7 separate regions of the Homo sapiens genome follow, and all the other regions are linked to region 1. Evidence: promoter capture Hi-C in 16 types of primary human blood cells and fetal thymus (Javierre and others, 2016). All regions are on one chromosome and are shown on one strand. Each heading gives the region's core, a stretch centred on a gene start or on the middle of the fragment in contact. The rest is flanking DNA. Distances are from core to core; before and after follow the strand shown. Region 1 holds the start of NUDT15 (nudix hydrolase 15). Region 2 holds the start of ZC3H13 (zinc finger CCCH-type containing 13). Region 3 holds the start of RCBTB1 (RCC1 and BTB domain containing protein 1). Region 4 holds the start of LRCH1 (leucine rich repeats and calponin homology domain containing 1). Region 5 holds the start of PHF11 (PHD finger protein 11). Region 6 holds the start of ESD (esterase D). Region 7 holds the start of CDADC1 (cytidine and dCMP deaminase domain containing 1).

Region 1 (3,567 bases), core at 425-2,924:
GAAAAGGTGTGCTACAAGGGTGAAAGCTCTTGGGTAAATCTGAAATGTGTCCCTCGGAGTTTCCAGATGCAGATGAATACAGAGGTAGAGCAAGGAAAAAGGGCAGCAGTGGAAATATCATTCCCATTGTGTGTTTCCTTTGGGCCAAGCAGATGCCACAAGAGACTGCTGGGTAATCAAATAGGAGATCCCAGTAGAAAGAAAATGTGGGGTGATGTGCTAAAAGCAAGAGCTAGGAGGTGGGCCAGCATCACAGAAAGCCCGTCACCTATGTCAGGAAAATCTCTGTGGGACTTCCCAACAACTGACAAACATACCCTGAGAAAGCACACATGTGGATATCATGCCCAGAGGACACCAATGGATGGATCAGAGCAGCATCAGTCACCTGAATGGCTTGCTCTCTCTCCTCCTCCAACACACTGGAGAAAGAAGGAAACTCAGAGACAGCCAGGTGAGAAGAGGAGGAGGATACAGAAAAGCAGAACAATGGCTCACACCTCCTTTATGCACTGCAGGGGAGGGATTAGAAACTGGAAGTGACACTGAAGGTTTAAATTGGATTGGACTTTTAAATGCTTGGAAGTGAATCATACTGACCCAAATGTGATTTATTTTTATAACCAAGTGACAAGAAAACTATAGAATTTGCAGGAAACGTCACTGAAGAGGGAAAGAAAAAATCATGTTTGAAGGCAGTGGAAGGAGAAAATAAAACCATTTCCTGTTTGTTCTCCCATCAAATTTAGCCCACTGAGTATGCCAGTTATGTAAAGATCAAATGAAAGTATACATGCAAAGAGCTTGGCATATTATCCAGCCTTTAACAAAAAGCCCATTAGAGCTCAATGTTGGCTATGGTCATTGACCTCACGGGTGGATCACCTGAGGTCAGGAGTTCGAGACCAGCCTGGCCAACATGGCGAAACCCCGTCTCTACTAAAAATACAAAAATTAGCACGGCGTGGTAGCGGGCGCCTGTAATCCCAGCTACCAGGAGGCTGAGACACAAAAATCGCTTGAACCCAGGAGGCGGAGGTTGCAGTGACTGGAGATAGCACCACTGCACTCTGGCCTGGGCTACAGAGCGAGACACAGTCTCAAATCAATCAATCGATCAATCAATCAATCACATGGAAACGGTGCAATGTCTTAGCTGACAATATCGGGCTGCTGGAGGTTTACACACACCTGCTTTCCTCCTTTTGTGTGTAAGCTGTGAGAAACACACCTCACAGACGAACTCCCAACCACCACCCAGCAGGGGCGCAGCCGGAAAGACCCAGCTAGCAAAGACCTCGCCTGACCCAGCACAGCGCCCCCTCCTGGGCGCGATCCTACGTCGCCCAGAAGTCGAGGGGAGGAACCGAGGGAACGCGCAAGAAAGGACGCAGCGTCAGCGCGGACGTTCTCACGCACGGCACACGGAAGCAAGCACGGCGTGAGTTCGTCCCTCTGCGCACGCCCCGGTTTCCTCGCGTCCGCGGCTGCTCACCCGAACTCCAGATGACCTCCAGGGAGTTGGAAACTGCCAGCTCCAACCGAGCCTTTCCTCTTCCCCAGGAGGACGCAACGCGGATGCTTGCAGCTGGTCACCACGACTCCGACTCCGACTCCTGGCCGCCGCCCGCGCGGCTGTGCGCTGGCCGTCATAGCGCGCGGGAGGACGCGCCTGGCAGCGGCAGGAAGTGACGCGCTCACTACCCCGTCCCGCGGCCGCAGCCAATCTCTCCCCGCGAGGGCGGAGGCGCCGAAATCAAAGCGAGAGCGCCTCGGCCTCTCCAGCTGTCCGCGGTGCGTAATGCGTCGCGGAGGGCTATCAGGTTGGGGAATGCCGTGTTTCCTTCCGAAGGGCAGCGTGCCTTAGAGTTTCGCTGTAACTAAAGTCGCTTACAGTTGTGCTTTGAATATTCATCACCCGTCAGCCTATCCACTCCCAGATTCCTGCAAACCATGCATTTACATGTACAAGCCGCCTGCTCTTACCAACCTCGGCACCACTGCACATTCTTTTTTCCGTGAATGACCTCGCCCACCATGGTGCACCCATTTGCCCTGTAGCTCAAATCAGCGTGGTACCAGGATAAGGATAGGTCGTTTAGAAACATCCCATTATAAACAACTATGCTTAAGGTATATTCATAAGTCATGGGAGGAAATAAAGGCTAATTGATAAATCATGCTGGGAAGAGTTAGTTACAAACAGTGGAAAACAGACATTTTCAGATGTTTGCACACCATGCACCATGCAAAATACAAACCAGCTGAATCATAAAAACAAATGACTAGTTACTGGGAGGGTTTTCTCTCTTTCTCATTATTTTTACTTCTACCAAAGTAATGTGCACATACTGGTAATTTTATTTTATTTTAATTTTCACCAAGCTAGCTAATTTTCTTTCTTTTTTTTTTTTTTGTGGAGGTGGGCTGTCGGTCTTTTGTCGAGGCTGATCTCCAACTCCTGTCCTCAAGCAGTCCTTCCACTTGGGCCTACCAGAGTGCTGGGATAACAGGCGTGAACCACTGCGCCTGACCTATAGCTATAATTTTAAGAAGTAAAATGGTGCAAAAACCGCAACAAGAGCAACCTGACCCTCCTACTTTCAGAAACAATCACTTTTAACTCTTTGAACTGTATTTCTGATATTTGCCTACTTATTTCTAAGTAATATGCTTACTCTCCATGTTATACTAAATGGGTATTAAGCTTTTCACAGCATCTCTCCTCACTATCAACATTCACATTCATTACAAAGGTACTTACAATATCTTCTCAAAAAATGGTAGTATATAAAAAGGATAATATATTGAACAATGAGATTAATCCCAGAAATACTAGGTTGGCTTAATATTTGAAAAGCCAATGTAATTCAGCATATTAACAGAGGGAGAAAGGAAATACATATAATCATCTCAATAGATGCAGAAAAAAATTAATAAAATCCGATACTCAGTTGTGATTAAAAAAACTCCACAAAATCTCTGAGCAAACTAGAAATAAAATGAAACTTTAACATGATATATGGCATCTACAAAGACCTACAGCTAACATCATATTTAATGACTGTTTTGAGCTGAATTGTGTCCCCTCAAAATTCCTATGTCGAAGTCCTATCCCCCAGTACCTCAGCATTTGGAGACAGGATCAAGTTAAAATGAAGCCACTAGGGTAGGCCCTATTCTAATGTTATGACTGGTGTCCTCGCAAGAAGTAGAGATTAGAACCCAGACTGTGTTCTATTGGAAGACTGTATGATGACACAGGGAGAAGGCAGCCGTCTACAAGCCAAGGAGAGCAGCCTCAGAAGAAACCAAGTCTGCTGACACCTTGATCTTAGAATTCTAGCCTCCAGTATTGTGAGAAAATTAATTTATGTTATTTAAGCCACACAATCTTTGATACTTTGTTATGGCTTGATACTTTGTTATGGCAGCCATAGCACTAGCCTAGCCTTATCTTGGTGAAAGACAAGATTTGGGAGGAGCTAGGGTATCCACTCTGAGCACGTTTAGTCATCATGTTGCTGGAGATTCTAGTTAGCACAACTCATAAAATTTAAAAATCAA
Region 2 (3,567 bases), core at 536-3,035, 2.0 Mb after region 1:
AACCTAACAAGTTACCTAGAAAAAAATTAATTGGATTATTAACATGTCTTTCACCAAAGTAAATTCCAGGTACAGCATATATTTTCATATGAAAACCCTGCATAAACCAAGTTGAAATCTCAGTAAGGAGAAAAAATTCTTGTGAAAGGAGAAATGAATGAAAGGAGAAAAAAAGGTCTACATGCCAAACAAAGCTAATAACACTAATGTCGTTTTTATAAGCAATTGATAAAATGAACCAAGTAGACAAATGAGGAAGGACAATTGATAGGAAATATAAAGATAGCCAATAAATATGCCAAACAAATGTGCAACTCACTGATAATCAAAAAACATAAATTAAGACAGTTGGATATTATTTTTCGCCCATAAAATTATCAGAATTCATAATTCCTATTGATGGTATGGGAAGGGGAAATGGGCAAATTCATACCCTGCTTGTGGAAGTATAAATGAATTCAGTTCTTTTGACGTCCATTTGGGAACATGCCGTAATTGCAAAAAGTACAGAGCCTTAGACTAGCAAATCTATTCTAGGGAAGAATATTCTAAAGAGACAAAGAAGCAATTATGTATAAACAAGGGTACTCATTGTAAAGTTGTTTATATTAGTTAAAAACTGAAAAAAATCTAAAGGTATACAAACAAATAAACATTTAAATCAAACAATTCCCAGTTTGTAAATTAATTTGAAACGTCTGTATTTCAACAATTTCTTTCTTCTTCTTTTAGACCTAGCTCCTGGAGGTGGGGACGATTGGATCTATGATTTGGGCATCAAATATTCGTTTACAATTGAACTTCGAGATACGGGCACATACGGATTCTTGCTGCCGGAGCGTTACATCAAACCCACCTGTAGAGAAGCTTTTGCCGCTGTCTCTAAAATAGCTTGGCATGTCATTAGGAATGTTTAATGCCCCTGATTTTATCATTCTGCTTCCGTATTTTAATTTACTGATTCCAGCAAGACCAAATCATTGTATCAAATTATTTTTAAGTTTTATCCGTAGTTTTGATAAAAGATTTTCCTATTCCTTGGTTCTGTCAGAGAACCTAATAAGTGCTACTTTGCCATTAAGGCAGACTAGGGTTCATGTCTTTTTACCCTTTAAAAAAAATTGTAAAAGTCTAGTTACCTACTTTTTCTTTGATTTTCGACGTTTGACTAGCCATCTCAAGCAAGTTTCGACGTTTGACTAGCCATCTCAAGCAAGTTTAATCAATGATCATCTCACGCTGATCATTGGATCCTACTCAACAAAAGGAAGGGTGGTCAGAAGTACATTAAAGATTTCTGCTCCAAATTTTCAATAAATTTCTGCTTGTGCCTTTAGAAATACAACCATGCATTCCGTTTGCTCCACGGTAATTAGGCGATGGCCCAGAAAGGGGAGGGGTGTCAAAAACGACAAACATAGCCTCTCATTCCAGCTCAGCTGCTCAATAAACACTGTTGAACGAATGAATGAGTGGCTCTAGGTACTGTCAACAAATGCCGCATTTTGCGCATTTACAACAGCTGTTTATGGTAAGGAATTATGTAATAAAAAGAGAAAACTCACTTAAATTCACTTTTAATTGGGAATTTTAGTTCTCCCGGGCTCCCAGTTTCCTTTCCTAGGATCTCTCACAGAGCACAGATTCGATTTCCAAGTCCCGCCGCACTCTTACCGCTCGCATGGAACCTTACGCCTAGAGGGCGTGTCCACGAAGGGTGGTGTCTGCGCACTGACGACTAATCTGACGGCCGGAAGCTGCCTGGGTCTACAGAGGAACAGGGCAAACCTCTGACTTCCGGCGGCATTTTGAGGCGGTCCTCCTAGCGGCCTGGTAGTGTTTTTGTTGCCTTTTCTTAATCTACAATCTCTTCGTTATTTTTCTTCCTGCGACCCAGTTTCGCTTGACCCTGGAGAGGCGGCGGGCGGGTTGGTTCTGCTTCTCAGCCATCCCGGGGGCTCCTCGCTAGCCAAGAGCCGGTTCCCGGGAGCCGCGCGCGCATCGCTTTCTCCTCGTCGTCGTCCTCCTGGGTCCAGGCGCGGGGACAGAGTCGCCTCCCCCGCTCCTCGGAGCGGCGGCGGCGGTGGTGCCTCCGGACTGCACTTGCGAAGGGAGCTTGGGGAGGAAGTAAGCGTTCTGTGAATTGGTGTGGGTATCTGGGGAAGGCATTGAGCGGACCCGTAATGCGGAGGCCCGGGTTACCCCCCCCCGTCTTTGCTTGAGTCACTGGGATTTTGAGCTTTCCTTGAGCATCCCACCCTTAACTCTGCAATAGCCCCCTGTGCTCAGGCGTAATTTCTCACTCTGATTATGATTCTGGCATTTGTCTAAGGGCGATAAGTAGACTCAGACAATAGGCTGTACCCCTCGTTACCATTTGATGTAAGCACGGGAACCCTTGTATGGTGTTCGTATTTGTGTGCGATGGAAGGGTGCAGCAATTTGGGCTTAAATTTAGAATCTTCCTCTATACTCATTCCAGATCTGTTAGAGAAAAACATCTTACTTGTGATTGGTCTTGTTTTTTTTTTTTTCCCTCAGCAGTGATAACGATTTAGGTCCTGGGAATTGAGTGCTACTTTATCTTCACAAGCCTTAGGTAGGTAGTTTTGGCAACTGTCAGAAACGGGGGAAAGTGGAATAGAAAGAAGAGAGTCTGTTTGGCGGCATTATCTCTCTGTAATAGGCTAACGCAATTTATGTGGTTTGAAAATTATTTAGAGTTGATAATACTTGAATTATGTTGGTAAGATGTTGTTTGTGAAGGGTAGTCTTAAGGTATTTGGTTATACTATGGGGCTTTCAGGTAATTCGAACTACTTTGAAAATTATGGGAGTATGAAGTCTCTTAAGATTTTTGGATTTTTAAAGTAGTTTTAAAAATTTGGAAAACATCTTTACACCTCAAGTTTTCGAAGTCCGCGATACCGTTGGAGAATAAATACTTATGCAGTTCAGTCTATGGGTATATGGTGCCAGTTAGCGGGGTCTAGTTCTGTAACATTTGAAATTACTGGCTTTAGTACAATATATTGGAGCGTTTTGTGAATACAATCTATAGATTTTCAAATAATTTTTATTTTCTTAATGAACTATTTAGATTATAACAGATGACAGTTTCAACTAGAGACTAGCAAAGTTGATGCAAGCTTGTAACAATTGCGGCTTTAAAAATAGTTGCACTCTGAAACTAAGGCTTTCACTCTGTGCATCTGGTAGGATTCAGTTTTATCAAATGTATGCCTCTTACTGGCTTCCTGATTACTGGTCATTCTAAATGAACATTGCATATTTTGAGATTTGCAAGCTTATGTGATTTTCATATTTGTAATATGAATTTAACATACTAAAAATCCAGCAAGTGGATGGTATCTTAACATCTTTACAAATTATTAAAATTGTAATATCATCAGTATTTATAATATGCATTGGCATTTACATAGAGGAAACACATTGTTTAACTTAAATTTACTTAGAGAGTTGGTTTTCAGTGGATGATAGTCTTCCTCACCTCCTCATCTCTCCCAACTCCATCTCATATAGAGGTGGAGCTATTTCTCCAGCTGT
Region 3 (3,567 bases), core at 702-3,201, 1.5 Mb before region 1:
CTGTACTGGAATAATGAACCAGACTACACATTCCTTATCAGCAACCATGTCTCATTCAGCTTTTAATCCTCCAAGATGCTCCAAGTATGGCATCTGACACATAAGCAGTGAGGGCTCAGGACATATTTGATTGCTCACACCCCATGCCCTCGTTTTTCTCTCAGACATGTTTACACAAGTTCTTTTGATCGGGTTGCAACCAAAAGAAACTGATTTTAGTTTCTTTGAGCAAAACAGGCCTCTTCTAGTAAATTCACTCAACTGCCACTACTTTGGGCAAGCCACTTCATTCAGTGAGTATTAAGGGTCTATCACATGCCAGGCGCTGTTCTAAACCCAGAAGAATCCTGTTTCAAAGAGTTTATAATCTAAGGGAGAAGACAGCAATAGACAATTCACCTTTTACAGGAAATGCGCAGTCTATTTCTGGGCAGTGTGAGGTGTATCAGAATATATATAGTATTCTGGAAATCAGGGAAGAAGTTGCAGCTGACACTGTCTGGATGAACTTCAATTGCTAAAAAATCAGGGAAGAGGATGCTGGGAAGACAAGAGTAGGCGGCATTTGACCTGGATTTTGAAAGATGAGTAGGAAACTGATGTGTACTTTGGAGGCTGTTGAAGAAAACCAGAGCCAAACAGTAGTTGAAGTGGTAAAAACATTTTATTCAGGAACTAGTGCAACAGGAGCGAGACCTCAGAATAGATACAGAACTAAGCTCAATTCTCTTATTGCATTAGTTTCTTAATACCTTTTTTTTTTTTTTTAATCATTGGCCCTGGTTTTCTTTAAGTGGGGGAGGTGGTGATTCAGGACATTTCAGATACAGACAAAAGAATGAACAAAGCAAAAAGGAGTAAAGAAACTTAGAGAAAAAGTAAATAATCCAAAGAAAGTTGAGTAGTCAAGGAAAACAAATTATTTGTAGCCAGAGCCTCCAGTAATGTTGGGGAAGTGGCAAGAGATGAGGGACGGTAGGACTTTTTTAATAATTCAAGTTACCAAAAGTGAAGTTATCTGGTGATATTTAGAAAATGAAATGTTTTTCTGTTTATTCCTAGGAGCTCAAATGGGAAAGGTAAGTGAACAAGTGGCTGGAATGCTATGCCAACAAGTTTGGATTTTATCCTGCAGCGCCAACTGGGAGTTCTCCGAGAGCTGTATGGTATTTTACAAAGGGACTGTAGTCTTTATAGGTGATAGGCTGGAGCAGCTCGTAGCAGTCCCTCTCCTGGCCTCAGTTTACTCGCTGGTAACACGAATCCGGTTGGACCAGATGCCCTCTTAGGTCCCGTCTAACCTCTATGGCATGCTTCCGAGGTACCTCTGCCTCTTTCCAATACCAGGACCTGTGCCTCATCTCGTCCTTCCTTCATACCTTTGTCCAGCTGCCACCTTCCCTAGTCCCTGGCCTGCCTCAGGTACTTTCAATCAGGAAGTGAGGGGCGGGGAGGGAGGGAGGCGCGTCTCCAGTAAAAACAAACTAGTCCCAGCTCCGCCGCCTTTCCTCCCAGGCAGCACCACCTGGGTGGTGCCCCGGGGCCAGACGCGCTCTAGAGTGGGCAGGGAGCCAAGTTTCTCGGTCGCTTTTCCGTCCTAGGTCTCTGGGGTGGTAGGCCGACCCTCCCCACAGCCAAGCCATCTCGGGGAGCAGAGCAGGAGCCCGTGCCTCGCGCGTTCCTGGTTCCTCAGACACAAAAGCCTCTAAGTCCCGGCAGCAGCCACCGGATTTCATGGGGACACTCCAGTGGCAGGGCCTCGGGGCGGGCCTGAGACGGCCAATCGGCTTCTAAAGAAGTCGGGTTGTAGGGCCCGAAGAGCAGGGTTTCGGCCGGGGCCGGGGCCGGGGCGGTGCGGGATGCTCGGCTGGGTAGCGTCCCGGGCGCGCGCTGCACCGGGTCACGTGAGGCGGCCGGGGCCACGTGACCCGGCGGGCCCGGCGCCCTGGCGCTCCTCCTCTTCGCTGCCGGTGGGCACCGCCGCTCGCTCGCACTTCTGCGCCCATTGGAGCTTCGGAGATCCCTGCGGTCCCGCGGGACGGCGCGGCAGCAGCTGACCTCGCAGGTAGCGTGTGGGCGCGGGGTCGAGCTCGCGGAGGCCTCTTCCCCCTCGGCCCTGCCCCTGCTTCCCTTCCCCGCAGGCCGGGCCGGGAGTGCCCCGTTACTCCTGTACCTCCCGCCTCCCTCGCTCGGGCTCCCGGGCAGTCCCTGCGGGCGCTGCGTCCGGGGCGAGGGATGGGGTCCCCGGCCCGGCCCCGCCAGCACCTCAGCTAATGTGCTCTCCTGCGAGGAGGAGGGAAGGATGGGGAGAGGCGAGGGAAAGTTTTCCCTGCCTCCCTCTCTTTTTTGAGGTGCACGGACTCGATTTTGCTCGTAGCTGAAGTCTGACTGCTGTGGGTGCCGTTTTACTGAGAGGAGATCTCCCCTCCGACTCTTCCTATTCTCTCTCCTTTCCAAGATCTTAGCATCTCTCCTTCGTCTCCTGAGAGTAGTGCTGTCACAAACCGTATTCTTTATCGTTTCCCTTTCCGACACAGAATCCACAAAGGCAGGGATTTTGTTAGTGAGGACTTTTATCCAGGCGTGCGGTGAACTCTAAATAAGTGACGTTTCCCTTGTCTGCCTCTGATAAAGTACCTACCTGCTCGGTTTAAGATGACTATCGAGCACGCTGTGTTCTGCTCGCATAAGTGGCCTTTTGTTTTTATTTATTTGCATGTAAGACACTTTCAAGCCATCTGCGGAACTCTGCAGCTGGGGATTACAATTTTATAAAGCAGTCTTGTAATAATGCTTTTAGAAAACCAGATTCATGATCTTCCTTGCTTTTGCCCTATTCTTTTTTTGGGAGGACTAAAAGCCCTTAGAGGACAAAAACTGAGTTTCTGAAACTGGTGTGTATTGTGGGCTAATAACATTAAAACATCAAAGTATATAATGCCGGAAGGAATGGAAAAATGATTGAATCCTGAGGGCAGTTTATAGGTGCTTTAAACTTTAGAGTACTCATTTCAAGTGAGCACTGGGTGAATTTCACCCGTTTAAACTGCTTTCAGGGTCGAGGATGTAACTGTATATTTGGATTCTATTAATATAACAGTTCATCTGTGGGATGGACTTTAATCCATTTAATCCATTGTGTGAATATCAGTCTATTTATTAATACTCTAGACGGGTCCTTTTTCTTCTACCCGCTAGTCTGTTTCTCTTGAAGAGGAAGCATATTCATCTTTAAAGAGATTTTTGCAAGTGATTTTTTTAAGTGTGTGATCCAAATGATAAAGTTCTGTGAACTTCAGAAAACAAGTAGCCATAAAAACCCAAAGCTGTCAAGCTTGTAGCTTTTAAAAAATGATTTGAAAATTTTAAAGCGTGCCCGTATGCTGCAGCAAGAACTTGGCTCCACCTAATATACGGGAGCTGGGAAGTCTGAAACAGTACCCTCCTTTTCCTGGGAGTCATTGTGGGGTAGATGAAACTGTGAAGGAAAGTGAGGACCTTTATTATGATGATGATATCCCTTCTGTGTGTACTACATTAAACAGTAAGTCATGCATAGGAAAGGAG
Region 4 (3,567 bases), core at 452-2,951, 1.5 Mb after region 1:
ACCCTGGGCCATGAGGCGATGACAGCCAAGAGGTCTGGGCAGCGGCTCCAAAACGGAGCACCCACTGCCCTGGGAAATGTTGGGCGCTTGCTATGACACAAACCCTCCCCCAGGGAGCGGAACCGGATGGCCGGAAACCAAGTCAGTTCTGTATAGACCCTAAGGCCCCAATCCTATTCCACCACCCTCCTTCCTGTTTATAGATCCCGCTCCTGGAACTCCAACTACCAAAGAGAAAGCAGACGTTTTAGAAGTATGTAACACATGACGTAACTTGAAAAAGTTATGCTGCTTATTGGCGCGAGTTACAACTTGCCGGGCTCACACAGGAAAACAGGCTCACGTTAATTACTTTGCCTTTAATATGCCACGCCGTCCTTTCCTGGGGCCCCCGCAACGGTTGGGTAACTGAGAACCAGGTAGCCTCGGTGGTAGGACCCAAACTGTGTGGGCGGTGAGCAAAAGGCACGGAAGGAAGAGGGCCGATCGCTTCCGAAGCGGCAGCCGACTGGGATTCACTACAAGCCCGGCGGCTCTTTTCCCGCACAAGCGCAGGGAGAGGAAACTTGGGCACCTCACAGGCGGCACCGAGTTGCCCGATCGCTCGGCGATGTCGCCGAGGGGGCTCGCGGCACTGCGCCGATGCCCCTGGCTCGGCCGAGGGCGTGCCACCTTTGTCTGGGTTTCCCCACCAGGATGGGCTACGCCTCGATGCAAAGACGGCTTGAACTGGTTGGAGGCGCCGACGCCGCTGTCCGCGCTGGAGTTCCCAGCCCTGCGCGGGGCCCAGGAAGCCGACACAGCCGCCTGAAACCTCCCACTTACACTGCGCGCACGCGGCGCGCCTGCAAGTCCCAGCCCCGCGGTTACTTCCCTGGCGCGGCAGCCACAGGGTGGAGAGCCGGAGACCCCTCGCTCTCAGGCGCAGAGGCCCGGCGCACCCCTGCCCTCCTGGCACTGCATCGCCGGACCAGGCAGGGCCCCCGTGCCCTCTCCAGGGCCCGCTTCTTCCGCGCCCACGCGAGTCCCTTCTTCGGGAGACAACGGGCCGATGGACCCTCCCTCCCCCAGCAAGACAAGATCTCCGACTGTCCACCGCGTTAGGGAACGCACGACAGACACCCAGACAGCACCCACACCCCTGCCCGCCCCTCGGCCCTCACTCACCTGCCTGCACCGTGTCCGAGAGGTCGTGCCCGGGGGCTGCGGTACGGGGAAATTCCTTCAATTTCCTGGCGCTCAGGTTCAGCCCCCCGGAGTTGGCCGCCTCCTCAAGCGCGCGCTCCAGACCCCGGTTCAAGGGCAGGTTGAAGCCCCCGCTGCCACCGCCGCCACCACCCGCCCCGCCGGGGGCGCCGGTTCCTCCGTGGTGCTGATGGTGGTGGTGGTGGTGGTGGGGATGATGAAGTGGGTGCAGAGTAGCTACCGAAAGGGCCGGGACGAAAGGTTGGGGTTCGCTTCCCGGCGTCGCCATCTTCTCCCGGGCCCCCCCACCCCGCCCCGCCGCTCCTGCGGGGGGGTCACAGCGTTCCCCGCGAGGGGAAAACGGCAGCTCGGGCTGAGTGCCGCAGTGCTCCACCGAAAGGCGCTGGAAGGAGGGGAGGAGGGTGTGGGCAGGCGCGTAGAATGGGGGGCGGGCGGGGAGGCGGCCGTGGCAGCTCGGTCTTGAAGGTTTCCTGTCCCCGGGAAGCTAAGGACTGCGGCGGCGGCGGCGGCGGCGGCAGCGCGCATGTGTCTCCTCCCGCCCCTGCGCCCTCCCCCCGGCTGCTCTGCCCTCCTCCGCCGTCTGCTCTCTCCTCCTCCTTCCCCCACGCAGTCTGCCCCGCCTGAGCCTTCCTCCGCGCCTATTCTGCCGGCCGCCGCCGCCTTGCCGCGATCCGCCCCGCAATCGGGTACACGGCGGGGCTGGACGTCTGCTCCGGGGCAACTGAGGCGCCGAACCTCTCTCTGGGCGTCCTTTTGCCGCCCAGGAGGCTTTAGGGGACTGGAGGTTGCGGGGATAGGGGGGTGGTCTGAGAACACGGATAAAACGGCGGGAGGCAATGAATGGGATTTACAGTACAGTGAGGTTTGGGGCAGGAGAGGGTTCTCTCAATTCTGCGATTTATTCTGGCCGTTTAACCCAGAGATCCCCAAGAGGCAGTTTTCATTCACTATGGGGTCATCCCTGCAGATGCCCCCTGGCATTTGGGCGCTTACAATGAACCAGACGCTTGTTTAGGGAGTCTACGTAAGTTACCTCATTAATCCAGGGACCCCAGGAGTGCCAAAGTTGTTCCCCTGAGTCTACAGAGGAAGTTAATAAATGTATCTAAGGTCACCCCTGCAGTTAGAGGGGCGCTAGATTCGAGCTAGGGCCCTCAGAATCTAGGGTTGCCCTCCTTCACAGTGTACCCCTGGGCCAGACGCCAGCGCCAAGGGACGAATACGAGTGGGACAGAGTGTTTGCTGAGCGGCAGAAGAAAGCTACAGACATAGGAAAGAAAAACTCAAAATGAGGGCAGTGTTTATGGGGGACAGAAGACATTGTCGTAGGAGAAAGATGAGCTGGCTGCTCCCCGAAATTGGGTGGTGCCAGGAGAGGCTAGAAAGCCAGTGACCCCAAACAGCAAATCAGTCACAGCTCGAGTCTGAGCTGAAAGAACCATCGAAGTCTCCTTGTGCCCTTCTTCTTCCCGCTTTGGGGCATGGAAACGAACATGTCCGCTTGCAAGTGAATTCACATTCTGCCATCAGCCACCCAGTGGCACCCAGGCCAATGCTGGCACACCAGGGGCGACAGAGAACATCTGACACCCTAAGGGCAGACCAGCTGGACGATTAATAGAATACCATTCCTTTCCTGAAGTTAAAGCTTCATGTCCAACTTTCCAGGGCCTTTATTTTTGCTCTATTCTTAAGGCTTGATTGTCCCCTATGAGCGACTTGGCTTGGGGAAAATGAGTCGGGGGGTGGGTGCGGGGTTGTCGGGGTGTCAAGCACGAAAGTAATGCAACCCTTGGAGTAGGGGAGCTGGTTTTTTAAGTGGTAATACATAAGTTTGATGGCCTAGACAACAGGCTGGAACTGGTGACTTCATGGACTCGGCACTTAAGTATGGCATGATCTGTGTCACTTGAATTGACTGCACAGATAGTTGCCCTTAATTCCTGCGGGATTCTTGGCCCTGAGCAAAGCATTCTAATCTGCCCGGAGGAGACACGCGCCACCTGCTGGTATCCTCCCGCAAACCTCCCCTCTCACATGCCATTCGCCGCAGCCTTCCAGGCTTTTAAAAGTCCGGCTTCAAAATTCATAATAATAACGACAATAATAATAAATGAAAGTATACTTCCATCACAAAAAAGTAACCAAATTTCCACTTTCCTCCAGGGAGAGGAACAGAGAAAAACAAAATCCAGTGAAAAACAGAAACACAGAAAAAAATCCAATTAAAAGAATCTTCAGCTGAAACCAGGTGGTAGTCTGTGTGATCAGCAGTCAGGACATGATTTGGGACATCTTCTGGCTGACTGCAAATTTAGTTCAGACTAAGAGTCGTTGTGATGCATCATAGGAAGCATACAT
Region 5 (3,567 bases), core at 743-3,242, 1.5 Mb before region 1:
GGAAGATGTATATGAGCAGACACCTGAATATGATGGGGAACTGAAAATGGGATAATGTGGCAATGAGTTTTCCTTGCAGAGAATAGCAAATGGAAAGATCCTGAGGCAGGGACAGCTTTGGTGGCTTAGAGGACCTACAAGGTAGCAGGGTAGCAGAGTCATTAAGATGGGCAGGAGTCAAATCAGATAAGGACATGGGGTAAACTGCAGGCCAGGCTCATAGATTGTTCTGAGAGTCATGGGAGACTATTGGTGGGTTTTGAGTAGGAGAATCACATTTGCTTTTTGTTTTTCAAAAAGCATTTTGGCCGCTCTGCAGGCCTGCCTGTATTAAAGGCTAGAATAGAAGCCAGGAAAGCAATAGTCCAGACAGAAGATCATGATGGCGTAGGCTTGGGTGGCAGTAATGGAAGTGGTGAGAAGCAGTCAGGCTCCAGATACAGTCAGGCTGAACACAGAACTGGCTGGCCCGACTGATGCATTAGAAGGGGTGTCCGGAGGAAAGAGAGGCCCTGAGGAGCCACTAAGGTTTTTGCAAGGAGCACCTGGGCGAATGGAATGGGCTGGTGGTTGAGCAGGTTTGGAGTACCTGAATACAGTGGAGGAAACAAGAATTCTCTTTGGGACATACTCAGTTTGAGATCATTTCAGAAATGGAAGAAGTTGGTTATACCAGTCTGGAGTTTGAGGAAGAGGTCAGGATGGAAGCGCATCTCCCGTGACTTACCTTACAGTCCATATGTATACCAATGAATGAAATATCCAACTGATTGGCTTGTGGTTGCCACGTATGATGTTTACGTGTGACGTTTTGTGGTTTGGTGCCTTTGTGTCATCCTCTCTGCTGGGAACACCCCTTCAACTTTTCCACCTTTGGCTGAGTCTTGCCCTTTAAAGGTAAGCCCATGAAACATGGAGAAACCCTCTCTACTAAAAATACAAAATTAGCTGGGCGTGGTGGCACATGCCTGTAATCCCATCCACTCGGGAGGCTGAGGCAGGAGAATCGCTTGAACCCGGGAGGCAGAGGTTGCAGTGGGCCGAGATAGCGCCTTTGCACTCCAGCCTGGGCAACAAGAGTGAAACTCCTCTCAAAAAAAAAAAAAAAAAAAAAGGGTAAGCCCAGCCATCCTCTCCTCAAAAAGCTTTCCCTGAAGACTGGGAGTCAGGAGTCTCTCATCTGTACCTCTGTGGTTCTGACCTCCTCATTAAAGTTGCCTAGTAGAGTCTCTAGGGCAGGGTCTGCCTAACTCATCTTTGTATGCTCAGGACCTTGCCCTGAGCCTGGCACACCGTTTGGAGCTATACACACACGCAAGGGCAGGAACCCATCAGAAGACCCACCCACTCAAGTAGAGGGCCGGGGAGGACTGGAACGACTGGAGAAGGGGAGACGGGTTCCAGTCACGTCCTCCGTGAACGTGAGACCCAGCTCTTCCCTCAGGGCCGCCCCCTGCCTCACCGCATCAGGGCGCCCCTCCACTGTCCTGGTTTACCGGTGAGCGGAGGGGCGCTAGGAGAGTTGACATCGGTTGTGGTGGAAGCACTGGGCTGTCACCCGCGGGGGAGGTAAACCGAAGCGTGCCCACCACTCGCGCGAAACCATGGGCAGTCAGAGCCACCTGTGGAACTGGCCTGGGCCGCGCCCTGTCCTCTGGCCCCCTCCCCCACCAACAGGCACGCGAGTGGTGAGCCAAGTTCGTCCAGCGCCGCCCCGGCGTCTAGGGCCCCGGCCCGGAGTAGGGGCAGGTCGGGCCCCCATGCGGCCACGACCGGAAGGCAGGCCCCTTGACCGGGCCCGTCGCTGCCCAGCCCCGCCCGCCCGCCCGCCCGCCCCCGCGGTACACACCGGTGGGAAGGAGGAGCGCCTCCTGCGCGGGCCGGGCCTCCGGGCTGCTGGCGCCGAGCACCCTCTCGGGCCGGGGCGGCGACGCCTGGGCCATGACTGTGCTGCAGCTGCGGGTGGCGGCCGGATAGCGAGATCCCGGAAGTGCCCCAGCTGCACTAGGTTTCGTTTTCTTAAATCTGGGCTGTCGCTTTGAGTCACTAGCCGGCCCGGGGAAAGTTGGGTGTGCAGAGAGGGGTTGTCACACACACTGCTCCAGATTCCAGTCTAGTCTTAATTTGAATAGCTTAAAAAACCCAAACGCCGGGAGCAGTGGCTCACGCCTGTAATCCCAGCACTTTGGGAGGCCGAGGAGGGCGGATCACGAGGTCAGGAGTTCAACACCAGCCTAACCAACATGGTGAAACCCCGTCTCTACTAAAAATACAAAAATTAGCTGGGCATGGTGGCGGGTGCCTGTAATCCCAGCTACTCCAGACACTGAGGCATGAGAATCGCTTGAATCGGGAGGCGGGGCTTGCAGTGAGCCGAGATCGCGCCACTACACTCCAGCCTGGGCTACAGAGCGGGACTCCGTCTCAAAACAAACAAACAAACAAACACACACAAAAAACAAACAAACAAAAAAACCCCAAACGCCAGGCTTCCCTACTCCACCCCCCACAACACAGCGGGAGAAACAATCACTCTCCTGAGGGTTCCTCCTAAAAACTATCATACTGGCCGGGTGGGCGCGGTGGCTCACGCCTGTAGTTCCAGGACTTTGGGAGGCCGAGGTGGGCGAATCACGAGGTCAGGAGTTCGAGACCAGCCTGGTCAACATGGTGAAACCCCGTCTCTACTAAAAATACAAAAATTAGCCGGGCTTGGTGGCGGGCGCCTGTAATCCCAGCTACTCGGGAGTCTGAGGCAGGAGAATCGCTTGAACCCGGGAGGCGGGGGTTGCAGTGAGCCAAGATCGCGCCACTGCACTCCTGCCTAGGCGACAGAGCCAGACTCCCTCTCAAAAAAAAAAAAAAAAAAAAAAAAATTATCATACCGAGTTTGGCTTAAATAAGCATATCTTAAAAGGACGCAGAATTAGCCGATCCTAAATCCAGTTGCCAGTAGCAAGCCTTTATTTAGCACCCATAGGGTACAGAGCACCATACAAGATGAGGTTTTCAGTGAATCTAACATAAATGCATATAATTATAGTTAAAAAATAAGTTGTTCTGGAAAAAAGACATATAATAGTTGGTGGTTTGCTGAGGAATTAAAGGAAAACTGGAGGTCTTCCACTTTCAGCAGGTTGTAAAGAGGAAGACTGCCAACTAGGGATAGCAGAAGAGAGAACATTAAAAAGGACAATTTGTATAGTCTTGACAACTATGAAATGAATTGCAGAAGAGTGTGGGGTCTGCAAAACAGGGAAGTGAGCAGACAGACCCTAGCAGCCAATTTTTAAATTTTTTTTTGCCCTCCATGCAGGAGGATGAAAGAGTATTTCTTGCCAGGCCAAAATGAAAGGCCCTTTATAAAGAGACTGACATTAGGGTGTTCCCCAGCAAGATAGCTCAGGTAGGTCATAGTAAAACAAAGAGCCCTTTACCACACTCTCAGCTTATAGTAAGCTTTTTGGTGTTCCACACTTAAATATGAGTAGACTACCAAGACCATTAACTCTGAGGAAAGCCTATAATGTGAACGACCAAAACAAACATACAGGGGAAACAAAGAAA
Region 6 (3,567 bases), core at 525-3,024, 1.2 Mb after region 1:
AACAGATTTCATCAGCACCTTGATCTTGGACTTCCCAGACTTTTAGAATGGTGAGGAATAAATTTCTGTTAAGCTGGAACTGACTAAAACAATCTCTTTTCTTACAGGCTTCAAGTATATTTGACTTTTTCTCATTTTTATTGCATCCCTTTATTGCCTCCTTAAGATTATATTCCTACTCATTTTAGTTCAAACCAAGAGTCCTATATCCTCTCAGCCACACATTTACACATAATTTTTGGACTATTTCTTTGTGTACTTAATATTCATCCATTTTTATTGGTAGTGCCATTTTTTAAAATGTCAACCTTAATTTCTGATTTCAGCCTTCTTTGCTTCCATGTCCAAATAATAATGATAATTATATATATTCTTAATATTTTTAAGCAATCGACTTTTGTGGATCTATTAACATTTTATTTATGCTGGGTAAAAGAAATTTTAGTTCTGCTTATTCTCACATTGTATTCACACAAGAACCCTTTAGTAAAGAACTTCACACTTACAGTTCTTTGGCTAGTCTGCACCTCACAGCAGTCCACTTATTAGGCAAATATATCATTTAATCAATTATTTCTCTTTGTTCAAACATCAGTTATAAAGAACTTGCAATTTAGGTATTTATTCTGTTTCAGTTTTGAAACTGAAGAAAATCCCCTTTTCAATGATTTATACTTAAAGATAGTAAAAAGAAAGTTTAAAACAATTTACTTCAATGCTTTCTCAAAATAAAAACATTATTTTGATGAAACATTATTTTCAGTCTAAGTTCCAATTGATCCACAGGTTCAGTCCACAGGTTAATTTAGTCCAAAGATCACTATGGCAAAATGGGCCTGAGCCACACAATAGATTCTGGCAGGTAATCTCTTGTGTGGCAGCTCATCCATACTTAAGTCAGCTCCCATAGCTACACAATTTGCAGGGCCCAATTCCAGACACAAACGTGGGGCCCTGGTTCAACACTTACTGAGAGAAAATGTAGCGTCCTTCTGTTCTGGGGGCCGGGTAATAGCACAGGTTGCAGGCCCATGAGGCCAGCCCCAACTATCAGATTGTGTATTTACAATGTCAGTCTAACCGTTGCTGAAAAATACTTAGCTCTGTTGTAATCAGATTTAATTTCTCAAGAGGCAAAGTACACTCAACAGTTTGCTTAAATCAGAGAGACCAAAAGGAAAGATTTGCTGTAAATTATCAACTAGCAAATCTTAGTCAGTTCAACTTAATTTTTATTGAGGGAAGAAGGGAGAAAACAGAAAACTGATGGAGTTCCCACTGCGTGTCGGCCACTGGAGATTTCAAAGGTTTCTTGTTTAACTCAAGCTACCAAGTAGGTGACGTGGATAGTCTTGGGACAGAGGAGTTGAGGGAGTTGAAATTAGGCCCTAGTTTCTACATAAGTGACACGGAAACCCTCTGCACGAGTTAAGCGAAGCTACATCTCAAGTTTATTAATGCCTCGGGTTCTTGCTGCTGGCTCTGGGAAGAGTCTGAGCACGCACAGCAGACTGATCCCCGACAAGGTGACAGGGACTAACCTAACGCCCTCCTCGTTGGTCCTAGTAACCACACAGAGCAGAAACGCGGGCGAAGGCAGGAGTTGGAGGGGGCGCCCACGCGGAGGCTGCCGGGAAGTGCAATGTGCAAAGGCGGCGGGGCCATGGAGACTGAACTGGAGAAGAGCGGGTTCTCGGAGTTAAAAGCGAGAGTGAGTGGGACCGGAGGGGCGGGGCATCATATGGGCGGGGCTGAGGCGAGGCCCCGGCGGCCATCTTGAGCCCCGCCTTTTACTTCGGCCCGCTTCTTCTGGTCACTCCGCCACCGTAGGTAAGACTGGGTTCGGGTAGAGGCCTGGACGTTGTCAGCCTTCCTGCGGCTGCGGCACGGCTAGGCGTGATCGGGGCGGACGCCGAGTCCTGCGGTGCAGGTATCCGCAGGCACGAGCGCAGAGACGGCGACCCTGGGCCTTGGGCGCCACCATCCATGACAGGAGGCCAAGGACCTTTTCCCGTGACCCGGAGCCTCGCCTCTAATCCCTTTTCCTTCTCTGAGCCTCCAACCTAGTGTAACCCGGGGCGAGCGCCCGTTTACCTACTGCCCGCTACATTTGTACAGCTTTTTCCTGTTCAGAAAGACTTTCCTAGACCCGCAGCCACCGCGCGAAAATGTGAAGTAGATGTGTACGCATTTTAAGGAGGGAGCTGGCCTCAACGCGTTACTAGCGGCCGCCGGCGCCTGGTTCGGGGGAGTGTGGACCTGCTGCTCTAGGCAGCGTCCGCGTCGGGGCACGAGCCAATGGCGCGGTCAGGAGCACTCACCTGATGGTGCCGAGGGGAGCACGTGTCTTTGGAGTTTGACAAAATCTGTTCGGGTCGTAAAATGCTCTCAGAGCGCTGTGGGGGACTGGAAGTCATTTCTGATGGGGTCATTAGGGAAATGGGATTGAGCGCACCTGGAAGGAGAGGGCATTCAGGTTGCAGGAAAAATAATAGCTCATGTTTGTGTGTGTGGTAGAAGCAGCATTTTAAGCACTACGTGAATTAACTCATTTAATTCCCAGAGCAACCCTATCAAATTGATATATATTACTGTATACCCATTTTGCAGATGGGCAAATGAGGCATAGATTAGCTTGCCCAGTGTCATGTAGTAATAAGTGGTGAAGTCAGGGTTTGAACCCGGAGGGTCTGGCCCCAAAACCTGCTCTGAAACCATTGTACCGTGGCATTGAGTAAAGCCACCCGATAGCAACATCCAGGCCATCCTAGAATTATGCATAGTTGAGTTTAACTAACAAAATAGGGAGTGAGACCAGAAAAATAATCTGGGACCAAATTATAGACCATATTTAGAGCCATGTGAAGGTGTTTGGCGTTTATAGATGCTATATTTTTTTTAAAAAATTTTCCCCAGAGTTTAATAGAAATCCTTACCTAGGCAAGCCATGTGAATTTTTATGAAGGAAAAGAGACCCAGCCTAGGCAGCATGGCAAAACCTCCTCTACAAAAAATTACCTGGGCATGGTGGTGCCACCTGTGGTCCCAACTACTCCAGAGGCTGAGGCGGGAGGATCACCTGAGCCCGGGGGCCGAGATGATTGCAGTGAGCCGAGATCAGGCCACTGCACTCCAATCTGGGCCACAGAGTTTGACCCTGTCTCAAAAAAAAAAAAAAGAAGAAAAAAAAGACTGTGTTTGCACACAGGTAGAGTGTGACTGAAGTTTATATGGAGTTTTATTCATCTATTTTTTCAGTGATCCTGCATGGTTTTAATTTTATGAAATTTTAATGGCATTAAACTTGAAGAAAATTGTACAATTAACATGGTCTTCCATTTCAGTGACTTTCTGGTTCTCAGCGACTGGCCTAACAGCGAAAGGGATTAGTAGTCTCCACCTGCAGCAGCCAGGGGGTGATGAGGCAGTTCTCATCTGCTCATTATTGTGAGCTGGCGAACTGCGTTTTTACATATGACTAATGGATACTTAACACTACTGAAATACACACTTAGGAATGGTTAAGATAGTAAATATTATGTATGTGTTTTTATCACAGTTTTTAAA
Region 7 (3,567 bases), core at 763-3,262, 1.2 Mb before region 1:
GCCAACACCCTAAGCTTCCAAAATTATCAAACAGAAATGATGAGAACCTAGCATCATGCCATTCCAAGCATGGAGGAAAATGAGAACCTAGCCCCTTGTTGCCCCAAGGGTAGGAGAAAGAAAAGACGCAGGATGTTTATACTTCCAATTCCAATATATTGGCTTTTATGATTATTCTTACTATACATTTCTGATTTTTTTTTTGAGATGGAGTCTTGCTCTGTCACCCAGGCTGGAGTGCAGTGGTGCAATCTCAGCTCACTGTAACCTCCAACGATTCGTTCAAGCGATTCTCATGCCTCAGCCTCCCGCGTAACTGGGACTACAGGCGGATACCACCACTCCTGGCTAATTTTTGTATGTTTAATAGAGATGGGGTTTCACTATGTTGCCCAGGCTGGTTTTGAACTCCTGACCTCAGGTGATCCACCCACCTCAGCCTCACAAAGTGCTAGGATTACAGGCGTGAGCCACTGCACACAGCCCATTTCTAATCTGTTTTGATCCTGTCTTTCAAGATCCAAAAAGAGACTACTTCCATCCAACATTAATCAATTAGCACTCATATAATGCTAGACTCTAAAGGGTATATGCTAGGTAAAATAAGACATGGTCTCTATCTCCAGGCAATTTATATATTTCTGTGGCAGAGGAGTAAACTACCTAGATAAAACACCAACAGTATATATAATTGGGGGAAATTATGTGGTATAGACAATAATCTTATTAGCCGAACTGACATATGAATACCATTAGTACCCGATAAACATGGTATTCTCAGAAAGTATTTTTAGAATGGAAGATGACTTATTACGGCTGGGAATTATAAAGTGTCATGTTAATCAATAAAGATATTTTTTAAATCTTAAGCCTTGTTAAGTTTGGTTTTAGGTATGACAGAAACTGGAGCAATAAACTCAGATTTTAAACCACTGCTTTTCTAAGGGGAAAAACTATGAAACAAATTATACCTGAGATTTTTGCCGCTGGGCTTCTGCTGGAAAGAGCTCCATCCAGAGGCTGAGCAGAGTGAAAAGGTTGACTTTAGAAAGCCTTGGTATCTGACCTACAAAAGAGACGACAAACACTTTAAACTTTGTTACTAATGGTGAAAAAGGGAGCCAATCTCAATGCCACTTAGGTGCTGCAGCCTAAGCCCAGCTGCTTTCGCAAGAGGCACAGAAAAAGATAGGGGACAAGAGAGTCAGAGGTATCTTAGCAGTAGACGCTTCAGCCTTAGTCGTGGCTACCTCCTTCTCCACTTAAAAAGTTGAGCCTTCTTTCTCCAGCCCTCACCCTGCAGGAAAAAACGGTACAGCTAATACACATAGCTGAGGGGGACAACCCAAAGCAAGCTGTGAAAAGTCTTCGCATCTGACGTCGTCGTGGTGCAAGCTTTTCTTTGGACTGTGATGGGGCGTTGCTAAAAGGAAAGCGATTAGAACACAACCCGAAAAATGCGCTGACCTTCGACGGTAAAGCAGTCGAAATACAGGAAAGCGTCACGTGCGGTTAATTTGGAAATCAAGGCAAAAGCGCCGTTTGGAAATGTTCAGGCTCTTTGACCTCAGAGGCCCCAGCTCTAGGTCCTGTGAGAAGTAGCTAACAGGGGTAAAAAGCGAGACTTCAAAAGCCAGTGCGACCGAGCCGATTGGTCCTGGCGACCGCGGAGGGGACACGCAGAGGGCGGGCAGGAGACATCCAAAAGCAGCAGGGGAGGCAAAGAGGCTCAGACAAGGAATCTGGAGTTCAATGACGGGAGACGCACAGGGCAGAGCGAAAGGTAGGGTGGCGGGAGCAGGGTCCCGGACACTCACCGGTCATGCTGCCAGTCTGGGTGCTGACTGACCGCCCGGCCCTCGCGCTCTCCAGATTTTGCATCTGCCCAGCTTCTTTCATCCCAAACCTAGCGTCCTCTGCTGCCAAGGAAACCTCTCCCAGTCAGACATGATCTCGGCCCTAGCGCCCCCGCCTCTCGCCTCCTCTCAGCAACTGTAAGGCAACGGCCCACTAGGCGCAGCCAGATGACGCCTCAAGCTTGACCGCCACTTCAGGGCTCCTCGTGTGACGTCATAGAGAGGCGGGGCTTTGGCGCCAGAGGGCTGCCCCTCGGCCGGTGACCGAGTTAAGCACCGAGCTGTAAATCGCTTGAGACCTGTATTTGGTTGTTTTGTTGGTTTTGCCAAGTAAGGTCACTTGAGGATTTCTTGGCTCGAGGTCCCAGGTTGCGCAGACTCTGACTGCATCGAGTTGAGAATTTTGGTCAGAATGTTAAAGTGGAAACCTACCCCAGGCTGTCATGGTCAGTGTTTTAGAGAACTTCTTGGGTTGGGGTGTGGAGCTGGGCGGTCCAGGATGTTCTGTCATCAGAGACTGGCGGGTTCTGGGGAACTTGGTGCCATGGAACACAGTAGGGACGTTCTGCTTCTCATCAAGAACATGAAGACATTAAGAGGTGGAATTGTAATGGGGAAAAAGGTGAGAGGAGGCAGTAGGAGTTATTTTGTTTTTAATTTCTAATGTCTAGTTTATTTCCACAAAACATCTGTATCATACCAGTTCTTTGAAATTTGTTCAGACTTGTTTTATGACCTAGATCAGCACTGTCCAGTAGGATTTCCTGTAGTATTCTATATCTGCACTGTCCAATATGGTAGCCACCAGCCACATGTGGCTATTGAGCATCTGAAATGTGGCCAGTACAACCAAGGAACTGCATTTTTAACTTCATTTAGTTTTAATTAATTTACATTTTAAGTAGTGACATGTGGCTATTGGCTACTACTGTATTGGACAACATTACTCTAGACTCTCCTCCTGGAATTCCTATTAGGCATAGGTTAAACCTTCTGAGGTTCTAAATTATTATTTTTAAAATATTGCATCATTTTGTTTCTCTGAGCCACATTCTGGCTAATTTCTTCAGATCTATCTTTCAGCTTGCTATTTATTTCTTTGGCTTGTAGAATTTTTTCTAGTTCGCCTGTTCTGAGGGTAAAGCTCTTCAGGTGATTTGACTATATCCAGAGAACTCCATTCTGCACCTTTCCTGAAGTGTAGACTTTGTTGACAGTGCCTTCATGGCAATTAACACTAAGGTTTAAAGACAGGCCATGGACTAGGAGAAAATATTTGCAAAGCATGTATCCAACAAAGGACTCATATCCAGAATATATAAAGAACCATATAAACTCAGAGTAAGTAAACAGTCCAGTTAGAAAATGGATCAAAGACTTGAATAGTCATTTCACCAAAGAAGATATACAGATGGCAAATAAACATGTAAAACAGTGTTCAGTGTCATTGGCCATTAGGGAAATGTATATTAAAACCACAATGAGATTCTACTACACACCTATTTAAATGGCTAAAATAACAAGTACTGACAGCACTAAATGCTAGTGAGGATGCAGAGCAACCGGATCTCTCAAACATTGCTGGTAGGACTATAAAATGGCATAACCACTCTAGAAAACAGTTTGACAGTTTCTTATAAAGTTGCACATATGCTTATCATATCACCCAGCAATCACACTCCTGGGTATTTATCCTAGACAAACCAAAACT

Evidence for each region. Contacts are between HindIII fragments. The CHiCAGO score rates a contact against its expected background, and 5 or more counts as called.
Region 2: the fragment with the promoter of ZC3H13 here is called in contact with the fragment with the promoter of NUDT15 in region 1 in 9 of 17 cell types (total B cells, naive CD8 T cells, fetal thymus and 6 more); the score reaches 15.1 in total B cells.
Region 3: a contact is called between the fragment with the promoter of RCBTB1 here and the fragment with the promoter of NUDT15 in region 1, in 7 of 17 cell types (fetal thymus, total CD4 T cells, non-activated CD4 T cells and 4 more). The highest score is 9.5, in fetal thymus.
Region 4: the fragment with the promoter of LRCH1 here is called in contact with the fragment with the promoter of NUDT15 in region 1 in 14 of 17 cell types (naive CD8 T cells, activated CD4 T cells, erythroblasts and 11 more); the score reaches 18.5 in naive CD8 T cells.
Region 5: a contact is called between the fragment with the promoter of PHF11 here and the fragment with the promoter of NUDT15 in region 1, in 10 of 17 cell types (non-activated CD4 T cells, activated CD4 T cells, neutrophils and 7 more). The highest score is 21.8, in non-activated CD4 T cells.
Region 6: a contact is called between the fragment with the promoter of ESD here and the fragment with the promoter of NUDT15 in region 1, in 16 of 17 cell types (M2 macrophages, erythroblasts, M0 macrophages and 13 more). The highest score is 31.5, in M2 macrophages.
Region 7: a contact is called between the fragment with the promoter of CDADC1 here and the fragment with the promoter of NUDT15 in region 1, in 11 of 17 cell types (total CD8 T cells, monocytes, non-activated CD4 T cells and 8 more). The highest score is 13.9, in total CD8 T cells.

Annotation. Positions count from the first base shown.
Region 1 is chr13:48,035,833-48,039,399 of GRCh38, reverse strand. It overlaps NUDT15 (nudix hydrolase 15), which reads right to left and starts at 1,674. Exons shown (of 3, transcript NM_018283.4): 1 at 1,496-1,674. The coding sequence starts at 1,653. It overlaps LOC124903172 (a long non-coding RNA gene), which reads left to right and starts at 1,408. Exons shown (of 2, transcript XR_007063788.1): 1 at 1,408-1,794. RefSeq lists enhancers at 1,178-1,337, 1,388-1,627, 794-1,669, 1,670-2,546. The HindIII fragment of the contact is 6,950 bases long and covers 1-2,709 here.
Region 2 is chr13:46,050,964-46,054,530 of GRCh38, reverse strand. ZC3H13 (zinc finger CCCH-type containing 13) reads left to right here and starts at 1,785. Exons shown (of 19, transcript NM_001330564.2): 1 at 1,785-2,127. CPB2 (carboxypeptidase B2) reads left to right here. Exons shown (of 11, transcript NM_001872.5): 11 at 733-1,345. The coding sequence ends at 917. It overlaps CPB2-AS1 (CPB2 antisense RNA 1), which reads right to left and starts at 1,683. Exons shown (of 3, transcript NR_046227.1): 1 at 1,566-1,683. RefSeq lists enhancers at 1,620-1,819, 1,830-1,999, 1,529-2,064, 2,065-2,601. The HindIII fragment of the contact is 2,282 bases long and covers 870-3,151 here.
Region 3 is chr13:49,583,942-49,587,508 of GRCh38, reverse strand. RCBTB1 (RCC1 and BTB domain containing protein 1) reads left to right here and starts at 1,951. Exons shown (of 13, transcript NM_018191.4): 1 at 1,951-2,065. RefSeq lists a silencer at 1,718-2,427. The HindIII fragment of the contact is 4,185 bases long and covers 1-3,336 here.
Region 4 is chr13:46,551,304-46,554,870 of GRCh38, reverse strand. LRCH1 (leucine rich repeats and calponin homology domain containing 1) reads right to left here and starts at 1,701. Exons shown (of 20, transcript NM_001164211.2): 1 at 1,168-1,701. The coding sequence starts at 1,474. RefSeq lists enhancers at 568-887, 544-1,244 and silencers at 1,448-1,507, 1,568-1,757. The HindIII fragment of the contact is 3,547 bases long and covers 1-2,856 here.
Region 5 is chr13:49,494,378-49,497,944 of GRCh38, reverse strand. PHF11 (PHD finger protein 11) reads right to left here and starts at 1,992. Exons shown (of 10, transcript NM_001040443.3): 1 at 1,850-1,992. The coding sequence starts at 1,943. The region is part of intron 12 of SETDB2-PHF11 (SETDB2-PHF11 readthrough); the gene reads right to left. SETDB2 (SET domain bifurcated histone lysine methyltransferase 2) reads right to left here. Exons shown (of 14, transcript NM_001160308.3): 14 at 2,942-3,567. RefSeq lists enhancers at 1,411-1,460, 1,951-2,190, 2,501-3,186 and a silencer at 1,651-1,930. The HindIII fragment of the contact is 2,314 bases long and covers 1,148-3,461 here.
Region 6 is chr13:46,795,368-46,798,934 of GRCh38, reverse strand. It overlaps ESD (esterase D), which reads left to right and starts at 1,774. Exons shown (of 10, transcript NM_001984.2): 1 at 1,774-1,830. RefSeq lists enhancers at 1,857-1,906, 2,038-2,639 and a silencer at 2,217-2,266. The HindIII fragment of the contact is 4,378 bases long and covers 1-3,567 here.
Region 7 is chr13:49,246,370-49,249,936 of GRCh38, reverse strand. It overlaps CDADC1 (cytidine and dCMP deaminase domain containing 1), which reads right to left and starts at 2,012. Exons shown (of 10, transcript NM_030911.4): 1 at 1,818-2,012; 2 at 972-1,066. The coding sequence starts at 1,899. LOC105370203 (a long non-coding RNA gene) reads left to right here and starts at 2,097. Exons shown (of 2, transcript NR_135318.1): 1 at 2,097-2,302. RefSeq lists enhancers at 1,890-2,119, 1,589-2,151. The HindIII fragment of the contact is 642 bases long and covers 1,398-2,039 here.